Linked DNA regions of Homo sapiens: all the other regions are linked to region 3. Evidence: promoter capture Hi-C in human tissues and cell types (Jung and others, 2019). All regions are on one chromosome and are shown on one strand. The core of a region is centred on a gene start or on the middle of the fragment in contact, and the rest is flanking DNA. Distances in the headings are between cores, read along the strand shown. Region 1 overlaps SYNDIG1 (synapse differentiation inducing 1). Region 2 has its middle 67 kb from the start of LINC02967. Region 3 holds the start of CST5 (cystatin D).

The links. The method cuts DNA at HindIII sites, captures the fragments that hold promoters and counts their contacts. A contact is called where the count stands out against the background at its distance.
Region 1: a fragment that was not itself captured here is called in contact with the fragment with the promoter of CST5 in region 3 in 2 of the 25 tissues and cell types used here (dorsolateral prefrontal cortex and lymphoblastoid cells).
Region 2: a fragment that was not itself captured here is called in contact with the fragment with the promoter of CST5 in region 3 in 2 of the 25 tissues and cell types used here (dorsolateral prefrontal cortex and spleen).

The regions. Positions count from the first base shown.
Region 1 is chr20:24,604,815-24,608,515 of GRCh38, reverse strand. All of the region lies in intron 3 of SYNDIG1 (synapse differentiation inducing 1), which reads right to left. Among named protein-coding and RNA genes, the nearest start is that of SYNDIG1, 140 kb to the right of the region's middle. The HindIII fragment of the contact is 4,675 bases long and covers 1-3,701 here.
Region 2 is chr20:24,849,773-24,853,619 of GRCh38, reverse strand. No RefSeq gene overlaps it. Among named protein-coding and RNA genes, the nearest start is that of LINC02967, 67 kb to the left of the region's middle. The HindIII fragment of the contact is 4,777 bases long and covers 1-3,847 here.
Region 3 is chr20:23,878,128-23,881,968 of GRCh38, reverse strand. CST5 (cystatin D) reads left to right here and starts at 2,221. Exons shown (of 3, transcript NM_001900.5): 1 at 2,221-2,523. The coding sequence starts at 2,293. RefSeq lists an enhancer at 1,899-2,728. The HindIII fragment of the contact is 5,935 bases long and covers 305-3,841 here.

The DNA.
Region 1 (3,701 bases), core at 514-3,013, 730 kb before region 3:
TTGGCGGGTGATGGATTGTCACTGTTAAGATTTTATTGGTGGGGCGCGGTGACTCACGCTTGTAATCCCAGCACTTTGGGAGGCTGAGGTGGGCAGATCACCTGAGGTCAGGAGTTTGAGAACAGCCTGGCCAACATGATGAAACCCTGTCTCTACTAAAAGTACTAAAATTAGCTGGGCATGATGGCAGGTGCCTGTAGTCCCAGCTACTTGGGAGGCTGAGGCAGGAGAATCGCTAGAACCCGGGAGGCGGAGTGAGCTGAGATTGCGCTACTGCACTCCAGACTGGGTGACAGAGCGAGACTGTCTCAAAAAAAAAAAATAGGAGATAATATTGCCAAAATTTAAAATAATTTCTGTATTATTTGTCATGGGTTTATACTCTAGAAAGCATTGATAGATCATATCTTTATAATTAAAATATCTTTTATTAGGTATACAACTGGAAGGAAACACTAAAATTCAGCACTGGAGACTAGAGGGTTTAGCTGCCGAAGATGTTTTGAATGTGCTCTGACATCTTGTTTCATAAGAGGATCTCATCCGGGAAAAGTGTTTAAAATAGATTTCTGTATAAACCTGTATTTTAAATATACTTGAAGTAAATTGCAGGACATTATGTTAATGCATTAACGTTACCTTCGGGTATCTGAGATACACATAACTGCCCTTGACTTACCCACTGTAAATATTGGGAGTTTTAAAAGATCATTAGGTTTTCGTCAAATGGAGTACACCTAAAAAGTCTACAAAAACGGAAGAAAGTAATTGATAGAAGGTTCTCCAACTGTGGCCAACTCAAGTCCCAGTGTGCTAGTGAGAGAGCAGTTGGGCTTCCCTGTCCCCACAGCTGCCTGTGAATTTCGGCCCTTGAAGCAGGGAGAGGGGGAGCCCGAGGCCGTCTCCACTGTGAATGTGGCCCATGGAGATGTCTCGCTCTTGAGGAGAAAAAGTCACAGCCAGGCAGCAGGAGGGGTGAACATTCGTCATGGGCCGAGGCTCTTCCTAGCCCCACTCTCCACCCCAGCAGCCCGGGTGAATCAGGCATTGAGGACGGCCCTTTGGCCAGAACCAGGGTGCCCAACTGGGACTCTCATCAGCCCGAACGAGGTGGAGTTTTCTTTCTTTTCTTTATTCTTTTTTTTTTTTTTTTTTGAGACGGAGTCTTGCTCTGTTGCTCAGGCTGCAGTGCAGTGGTGTGATCTTGGCTTATTGCAACATCCGCCTCCTGGGTTCAAGCAATGCTCCTGCTTCAGCCTCCACTAGTAGCTGGGATTACAGATGCACGCCACCACACCCAGCTAATTTTTATATTTTTAGTAGAGATGGGTTTTTGCCATGTTGGCCAGGCTGGTCTCGAACTCCTGACCTCAGGTGATCCAACTGCCTCAGCCTCCCAAAGTGCTGGGATTATAGGCATGAGCCATGGTGCCCGGCCAAGGTGGAGTTTTCAAAAAGAACTTTCACCAGGTCATCAATGGCAAACAAAGGCCAAATGAGTGGAAAGAAAGAGGTCCGTTCATATAACACATGATTCTTGCAAACTCCTTATTTCAAACTCCCTATTGACAGTACTGCCTCAACTGCCCAGGGCAGCTTCAAAATGAAGATCCCAGAATCATCCTCCAAACACTGCTTCTTCTGCTCGTCAGCATCCACTTTCCAAGTCAGCATCCAGGGGTAATCATTCTGACGAATACAGGAGCACACAGCCTTCTGCTGACTCCAATCTTCTTGCTTGGCAGCCTGGCCCCCACTGATCCTGTATGCTCCCCTACATAACCCCAGGGATGGGCACTTGTGCTGCGCTCTGCCCACCTGTAGCACAGAATCTAAACTCCGGATCTCTACTTCCAGAAAACCCATACCGTAAGGATTAACTGGGCTACAGTAAGTTTCCTAAATCTATTCAAAGTAGCATCCAGATGGACATTTCTAATTCAGATTTGTTCTCTTTTTATAATAACTTTCTCAATAATATAATATTCAATTCTATAATAACCTAAGGTTTTACCTTAAAGTGCAATTCCTGCTTTTGATTTAGCATGAGGTCAACAGAACCTAAGATTTGGGGACAAAGTGAAATCTGGGGTAATTATCTGCTAGATATCTATTAGAATTCAGTGAAATAGTTTCCCAGAGAAAATTGTTCATGAGTTGTCGCTCATGGCAATAGGGGTCAGTCCCCTGACCATCAGCTGTTCAGGAGGCAGGGACATCCCACTAACCACAGCCTCATAGCCACATCCCCTGACAGGTGGAGCTTTGAGACTTGGCTTGAGGCCATCTGAGGCCAGCACTGACTGCCCACATGCCTGTTCTGGAGACACTTGCAATGATGCTCCAGTGCCTCTGTGATCAACCAGCACATTGTTGGATCATCCCAGCCTCTGGCCAGGCTGGCCTGGTAGTCACAGAAATGGCCACAGATAGTGACCAGAAGCCGAGGGACACCACACAAAACCATAGTGCTGTAGGACCTGCACAGAAGTCCTCGATCTTAAAAGAGATGCAAAAGAAACATGTGGACAGCTTTACTGTCGGAGGCATGCTAAATTCTAAAAGCTTCAGGTACATCATTTAAAGAAAAATGATCACATGTTGGAAATGTAATTGGAGGTGAGCCCTAAGTCCAAAGGGAAGAGTGCACAGCTTGTAATGTAATGCATTGCTATGTCAACTCTGGGTCCCACACGTCACAGGCTTTGCAGACTCTGCCCTTGGACAATCAACATGCATGTTTTCTCTGCTACAGACAAATAATCACAAAATCAAGATGCTAATTACCAAGACAATGTATCACCTATCAGTGGAAAAAAAAATCTATCCAATCCACTGCAAGGAGCAAAGCAGACATGATGTATTTGTTCATTTATACACTAGAACAAGTTAAAATCAGTAACTAACTGCAGCATGGATTCCAGAGGAAAAAAATACATAAGAAATCTGATTTGTCTTGGCTGCACCAGATCATTAATATTTATATGGAATTGTTTAAATCCAGAAGTTGCAAAACAGCTCTCAGAAGCTACAATCAGCATATTAAATATGCATATTGAGACAGAGATACAGACTGGGGGAGGGAGAGAGAGAGAGGAGAGATACCATTTGACTATTTAACTGCCCTCACACATTTCCCTGATACAAGTTAAAATAAACCCATGTAGTAATATTGGAGCCGTTCCTCTAGCAATGTTTTTCAATGCATTTGTCTGCAAAGTCAATGTTATGCTTGTATCTAGCTGGGCTCTTGTAGCCCTCATTGCAACCTTCGTTTACATGTCACTCACCCAGGGAGGTAGATGTGGGCCCACGGCAAACCCTTCCCACCCATCTGTCCCTGGGTAGCATTTTCTTTCTGCGTGGCTCCATCACTCCTGCTTGGTTGGGATGCCCTTTGCCAGGACTTTCTCCTGGACCCCAGCACAGGTTTCATGTCTTTACCCAGATGCCCCCCAACTACCTGCCCATGACCTTGGATGCCCTGTGACTCTCAAGGGAAAACTTGGGTTTTGGGCTGATTCTGAATCTACCAGAGCCTAACAGATGCATTCATTAGATGGGACTCAATTTACTATAAATCTGAGGACGTTAAAAAATAATGAACTTAAGGATAAAAGTGGGATCTGGCGGGGTGCACGGAATATTATCCCAGTGTTACCGGAAAGGAGTCCCGATCCAGACCTCAAGAGAGGGTTCTT
Region 2 (3,847 bases), core at 817-3,316, 970 kb before region 3:
CAGAAATAACATTGATTAGTGATGGGCCGTACATTGTTAAGCTGTATGTAGGGTGCGGGTAATAGTGTCTGGTGTGGCATTATTCAGTTAATTTACAGCTACTTGTGTCATTAGGAAGTGGTTTCAGGAGATGTTCACATAGCTCAAGGTTGGGTAGGATGCGATTGCTGTCTCATTTAACTCTCTCTGGATCTGACAATTTAAAAGGACTTGCATTCCTCAGGCAAAAGTTCTTTTGTTTTCTCGCAGGAAATACTTTGCTGAATTTGATTAATAACATTAGCAGAAATTTCTGCTTCCATTAAAATTGTTAATCACTTTAAATCTAAACAAACCAAGAAAATAATGATTATTAATGATTATCACATGACTGTTTACTTTTAAAGTTAAGTTTATTGAGGTATAATTTGCAGATTAAAACTCACCCTTTTACGTGAACAATTTGATGATTTCTCTTGGGTTAGAACCTAAGAGTTTGACTATGGTGTTGTATGGTAAATATATGTGAAACCGCCTTTGCAAAATTATGACAGTGAGAGAAATCTAACAGAGTTGACTCCATCTTGCTTCTAACTCCAAGCTGTCTTTGGTCATTGCTTGGCATAGGCCAAGCTAACTTTGGGAGAAATTTAGTTTATAGTTTAACCTTAAAGCAAGGATGATAATAGCTCTTCCCCAAAACTAAGACACCTTTGTAAAAACTAATGAAAGGCCACAAGCTTAGGATTTTGAGAGGGGCTGAATTCTACTAAGATGCAGGTGTAGTTAACCAATACTAGCCATTGTTCCAGAAGTCACAAGAAGTGTGACTTCTCCAATTACTCCTGTAGATGACATTCTTATTGTAGAACCCAAGATTGGCCTTTTGAGATTTTTTTCCCCCAGACTTCTGCATTTCTGATAACTAGTGATGCTACCTAGACTTGAGGCTTGTGACTCAATGGTCCCATGCCCCCCCCAAAGAGGTGGACTCAGTGCACAAGAACTGTTTTCCACACCCGTATGATTTTATCCCCAGCCAGGCAGCAGCACCCATTCCTTAGACCCTGGCCCACCGAACCGTCCTTGAAAAACCGTAACCTCTGAGCCTTCTAGGAGACTGATTGAGTGATAACTTGAGTTATCCTGCATGGCTGGCCTGGTGTTAATTAAACTTTTTATTTACTGCAATGGCATGGTCTCAGCAAATTGATTTTGTCTGTGTAATGGGCTGGAAGAACCCATTGAGCAATTACATATACTTAACTTTATTAGAAACTGCCAAACTCTTTTTCAAAATGTGGTACTACTTACATTCCCACCAGCCAAGTATGAAAGTTCCATTCACTTCATACCTCACCATCACTTGTCATTATCTGTATTCTTCTGTTTAGATTATCTATCTATATATATATATAGCCACAAATATATAGCCACATATATAGCCATATATATATATATATATATATATGATATGGGGTCTCTCTTTGTCATCCAGGCTGGAATGCTGTGGTGCAATCCTAGCTCACTGCAGCCTCAACCTCTCAGGCTTAAGCTACCCTCTCACTTCAGCCTCCTGAGTAGTTGAGACTAAAATCATTCGCTACCATACCTGGCTACTTTTTTAAAATTTTTAAAATTTTGTTAGAGATGAGGTCTTGCTGTGTTTCCTAGGCTGGTCTTGAACTTCTGCGCTCAAGCAATCATCCTGCCTCAGTCTCCCAAAGTGTTGGGATTACAGGTGTAAGCCACTGCCCCCAGCTCGCTGTCTGTACTCTTAATTTTAATCATTTTAGTGTGAGGTGAGGTGAGGTGAGGGCTCATTTGCATTTCCCTCTTGCCTAGTGATGCAGAGCCTCTGACCACCCATAGCTCTTCTAAATGGAGTGTCTCCTCAAATCTTTTCCCATCTTTTTAAGTTAGACTGTTTGTTTTCTTATTATTGAGTTTTGAGATTTCTTTATATACATTCAGATACAATTCCTTTATCAGGTATGCAGGCCTTAATCAGTAAATATTTTCTCTCAGTGTGTGGGTTTTGATTTTCTTAATAGTGTCTCTTTGTAAAACAAAAGGTTTTCATTTTCGTCAAGTCTAGTTTATCATTTTCTTCTTTTATGAGTCATTTTTGGTATTCTAGCAACAACTTACTTTTCAAACCAATGTCACAAAATTTTTTTCCTCATGTTTTCTTCTGGAAGTTTTGTAGTTTCAGCTTCTGCATTTAGTTTATGATTCATTTTGAGTTAATTTTTGCATATGGTGGAAGGTAAGGGTTGAAGTTATTTTATGCATATGATTGTTCACTTGTTCCAGCACCATTTGAAGAGACTATCTTTTCCCTATTGGATTACCTTGGCACATTTGTAAAAATCAATTAATTGCTGGGTGTGGTGGCTCACTCCTGTAATCCCAACACTTTGGGAGGCTGAGGCAGGGGGGCCACCTGAGGTTGGGAGTTTGAGACCAACCTGACCACCATGGAGAAACCCTGTCTCTACTAAATACACAAATACTTAGCCAGGCATGGTGACACATGCCTGTAATCCCAGTTACTCAGGAGGCTGAGGTAGGAGAATTGCTTGAACCCAGGAGGTGGAAATTGCAGTGAGCCAAGATCACGCCATTGCACTCCAGCTTGGGCAACAAGAGCGAAACTCCGTCTCAAAAAAAAAAATCAATTAATCATATATGCATAGTCTATTTCCAGAAAATTTTGTTCCATTGATATATGTGATGACCTGTGCCAATACTACACTGGTTTTATTTTTGTAAATTTGTAGTTGCTTATTACTGAAAATAATTTTATCATATAGAAGAGGTGGGTTTTAAAAACTGCTCTGCTCTGAATGTTAAGCACACCTAAGACATCACTGACTAGAAGAGATGAATACAAAGCAGATGAGAAGCTTCTGAGTGGGGAATCTGTAGCCTGACTTCCCCTGCAGCTCCCTGAGCAGAAACCAGAGGTACCCTAGCCTGGGGGAGAAGGATTGTGGTCCCCTGCCCCATGGCAAGAAGCTCTGTTTGGAGCAGTTCCTGGTGTGGCCATGGGCTTGGTGCTGGGGAATACCCTGGAGAGCTGTTGTCCCTGCAGGGTTTGAACCAAGGGGAAGAGATGCTCCATGCCGTGAAATCGGTAGGAGATTAGAGTTTCCATGAGCTGCAAGGCAGGGTTTCACCTGCACATATTCATAGAATGAGTCCTCCTGCTCTCAGGCTCTGGTGTTCATTTCCAAGACACTGGCTTGAGGCAGTGGACAGTAAATCAATAGTTCATCTTGTAAAAACCTCGTGTAATTAGCTTGGGGGCTGTAGTGAGGAAAGAGAGCCTTCTGGGCTGCTGATGCATTTGACTTGAATGACATCCCAGAAGAACACCTTTCAGTTCTCTTCAAGCCATTTTTGAAGATCCAGAGCTTCCTGTGTGGGAGAGCACGTTGGGGCACTGAGCCCAGTCAGCGAATGGCACAACTGCAAGCTCAGTTGGCCAGAGCAATGGACCAGCATGGCAATGGCTGTGGTTTCTATTCTGGGTGTAGACAGTCCTGCAGGAGAGCTGACGTTTGTCCTACTGAGCTCTGCTCTGCTGACTTACAGGTGGTATTGTGGACACCAGTGTCAGCACTGGGAAAATAATCCATGTATACCCCATGGAGCAGGTTGGTGCATGGAGCAAACTGCAGCAGACCTGCAGAAGAGGGGCCTGACTGTTAGAAAAAAAAAAAAAAACTAACAGAAAGCAACAACAACATCATCAACAAAAATACCCCCCCGCCCCCCCAAAAAACACCATCAAAAAGTCATCAGCCTCAAAGATCAAAAGTAGATAAATCCACAAAGATGAGGAAAAACCAGCACAAAAATG
Region 3 (3,841 bases), core at 972-3,471:
CTGGGCCACCTGCTGTATCTGCTGGAGTGCATGGCTTTTCTAGGGGTGCTGGATTCACAGTGGGGTGCAATGGTCACTGGGCCTTGGGTAAAAAGGTCCCCTGTCCTCATACTGAACATGAGCACCCATGAGTAATATTGTTCCCGCTGTCGGGTTCCTGCTGATGCAGCCCCAGCCATGGCGGAGCCCCAGGATTATAGCAGGTCTGGGCTGATCCTGGCCGACCCTCACCTCCACCACTCCCAGGAGAGTCCTCTGGGTGTCCTGCTAAGGCCCAGGGTTTCCTGGTGTTTCTGGCCAAGCCTGCCACCTCGCCATAAGGGCATTTGCCGCAGGATCACCTTCAGGCATGGAGGGGGGGTTGAGAGAACAAAGGGAGCAGCTGTCTGTTCAGAGCCTCCTTCCACCCTCCCTACTCCTGAAGTCACATTCCAGTCCAGGCCCACAGCATCCCGAGCTGGGGGCTTTGTCAGCCCACAGGGCACCCAACTGACCACATCCTCTCAGTCTGTGGAGAAGGAGAACTCTCAATCCTGGCAATGAAGCCACGCTGAGCAAAGGACGAAGACACACCTGGGCTCTCTCTGCAGGATTCCATTCCTGGGAAGCTCAAGGACAGGCAACAAAGGAGTCCACAGGACCAGATGTGGGCTGCCAGGGTCGGGTGGGCATGAGGGTGGGCTTCAGAGGCAGGAGGAAACCATCTGGGGTGAGGCAGATATCACAGGTGTGGACAAAGTGGTAACACAAGTGTATGCATTTATGAAATCCCCCAGATTGGGCACATACAATTAGGCATTTTATTGTGTGTAAATTCTACCTCATTCAATGTAATTTTTAAAATATTACATGAGTTTTCCAAGCAGTGTACAGAGGACCAGTGCTGGCAGCACGTCTCCCAGAGGGGAGGAGCAAGAGAGGCTCTTGGGCTCCCACATTCATCCTGTGGCTGCTGCTCCTTCTCCTGACACCCCCACCACCTGCCAGGGGTCTCCCTGCGCCTTCCACCTGGACACACCCACAGTTACCGTGAGACTCCAGGTCGTTCCCTTCCCTGCTCACACCCCCTCCAGGAGCTTCCTCTTCCTGGAGCAGGCATGCCCAGCCTTGCCTCAGGGCCTTTGCACTGACTATTCCCTGCTGCCTGGGGCTTCTCAACCTTTCCGGTCTCTTAGAGACTTCCCTGACCAGGGTCCAGTAGCACCCACCCTCTCTCTAACTGAGCGACTATAATTCCCTGATCTAAATTGTTGATCACCACTCTGCATCCTCCCACACACCCTAATGGCTGGGCTATGCAGTACCACAGCCACCAGCAGCCACTCGTGGCCACAGGGCACTTGAAATGGGGCTAGTCCACAGTGACGCTTGGTCTAACTGTAAAAAATACACAGGGAACTTCAAGACATTACACTCACACAAAAGAATGTAAACTAGCTCCTTAAGAATAGTCCTGAAGTGTTGAAGTATTTTGGATATATTAGGTTAAAGTAGAAATACCAAAATTACTTTCAGCTGTATCTTTTAACTTTTTCAAATGTGTTTTAAATTGCTCCTGGGTTTCTGTCACATCTCTGTTGGATGGCAGCTCTGCAAGTTCATGTCTACGGCTCTATTGCCCAGACTGCTTGGTGCAGGGGGAAGCTGGTGACAGGTTTGTTTATTGAATAATGAGGAGTTATGAAACGAGAACCCAGTGAACTTTACCCAAAGGTTAATTACTTTATGTTTGGCAAAGAAGTTCCCCAGAAGAGGGCATGGACAAGGTCATCCCGGAGCTTCTGAAACAGCTCCCTGCCCCAGGAATTCCCAGACCATGACCACGTGCTCCTGGATGCCCCTGACATCTGAAGACTTTAGAAGGCCAAGCCCTGTATTTCTCCCTTTCCTGTGGACATAGGTGGTCACCAGGTTTCACAGCCCAGGGAGCGGTGTCACCTCTCTGGAATCCAGAGTGAGCCAAGCTTTAGAGCACTGAGGAAGAGGGGCAGGGCTGTGGGGAGGTTGCGGTCAGGACAGGAGTGGGGAGGAGGATGAGGAGGAGGCATGGGAGGAGCGAAGGGAACTTAGGGAGGGAGGGAGGTGGTTGGGGGTGGAAAGGGAGATAGAGACAGAAGAGGAGGGGTAGAAAGAGGAGGAGGAGCCAGGGGCGGGGCCAGGGAGCAGGTGGGGTTGGGGGACACCCAAGTAGGATAAATGCACAGCTAGCTTCTGGCCTGGGCTTCCTGCCTCAGCCTTCTGCTGCTTTGCTCTCTGGGAGATCCAGCTCCTTGCTCTGTGTCCCAGTAGAACATGATGTGGCCCATGCACACCCCACTGCTGCTGCTGACTGCCTTGATGGTGGCCGTGGCCGGGAGTGCCTCGGCCCAATCTAGGACCTTGGCAGGTGGCATCCATGCCACAGACCTCAATGACAAGAGTGTGCAGTGTGCCCTGGACTTTGCCATCAGCGAGTACAACAAGGTCATTAATAAGGATGAGTACTACAGCCGCCCTCTGCAGGTGATGGCTGCCTACCAGCAGGTGCGTGCTACCACCACCCTGGGGGTCCTGAGTCCCAGCTGGGTTTTTTGCCTCACCCCCCAGAGCACTCCCAGCAAATCAACATTATCTAAACCGCAGACTCATTCAGCTTTCTCTGACTGTCTGCTGATGGTCTTCATGCCCTAGGACACTCCTTGGCCGTGAGTGCATGAGTTCAGCCCTGTCCTGTCCCCTCGGCCTCTTTTAACCTGCAGCAGCCACTGTGTCTGTACCATGACTGTGGCATTTCCCAGGGTCCAGCAGGTGTGGATGGAGACTGTGCTGACTCTGGGTGGGCTTGATGCTGCTCAGGATGAGATCCAGGCCACGAGGTTCATCTTCCTCCCTGAGTCCTCTCCACAGGGGCCACACGGGAACCTGACTCCTTGTCCTGGATAGCCCCGCTTCCCTCCCAAGTCACGCCCCTGGGCACAGCCCGTTATGGCTAGTGGCCTTCACTCTCAGGCTGGCTGACCACCCCCTACAGCCCAGGACAGCTGAGTTCCTGCTGGGGTAGAGCATGCCTGACCCTGCCTCTGCCAGCTAACGCAGAGTTAGACCTCAGCAAAATGAGGACAGCAATCACCCAGCAGAGTGAAGGAGGTGGTTGGGTCCAGAGGGAGGAAGCTTCAGCAGGGCTACCGAGCCCAGCTTGACCTACGTCCCATGGCAGAGCAGCAGTGACACAGCGACCACAGGGCTATATGGCCTGCCAGCCTTTAGAGCTCCTCCACCTTCTCTTGGAAAGTCAGAGGAGTCCAGACCAGCCCTGTTTCTCCTCCTGCAGCCCTCTCCCTGCACAGGAGGGGCATTCCCTGGTGCTGTGGTCCCTGCTGGCCTGCACTCCCTCTTAAGTGTGTCACTCACTGGGAGTGAAGCACAGAATGATGTAGATCGTTGGGCCCTGGAGCCTATTTTACAGAGCAGCAGACTGACACCGGAGGGATCACAGGACTTCCATGTGGTTCTACAGGACTTGTGTGTGGTTCCACAGGGCAAGGTCTAGCACCCTGGTCCCAGGGTCCCTCATCCCATGCTTCTCCACAGTTCTGACAAGTCATGTTTTGGGGCGGCACTGTGCAGGGAAAGCATTCAGTTCTCTTCTGAAGTTGCAACCCTAAGACATGCAGGTGTGTGACTCACTTTAGAAATATTGCCTTGAAAATCACACCTGGAATGGAGGCATGCAGGAGGCAATGTTTATTGGCCTAAAACATCAATGTATGTGAGCATCTCATCTCCTACTGAGAAATGAGGAAAAATACCTCTGGGTTAAATGGCAGGAATGAGATGCTCTGTGGACTGAATGCCAGGAGCT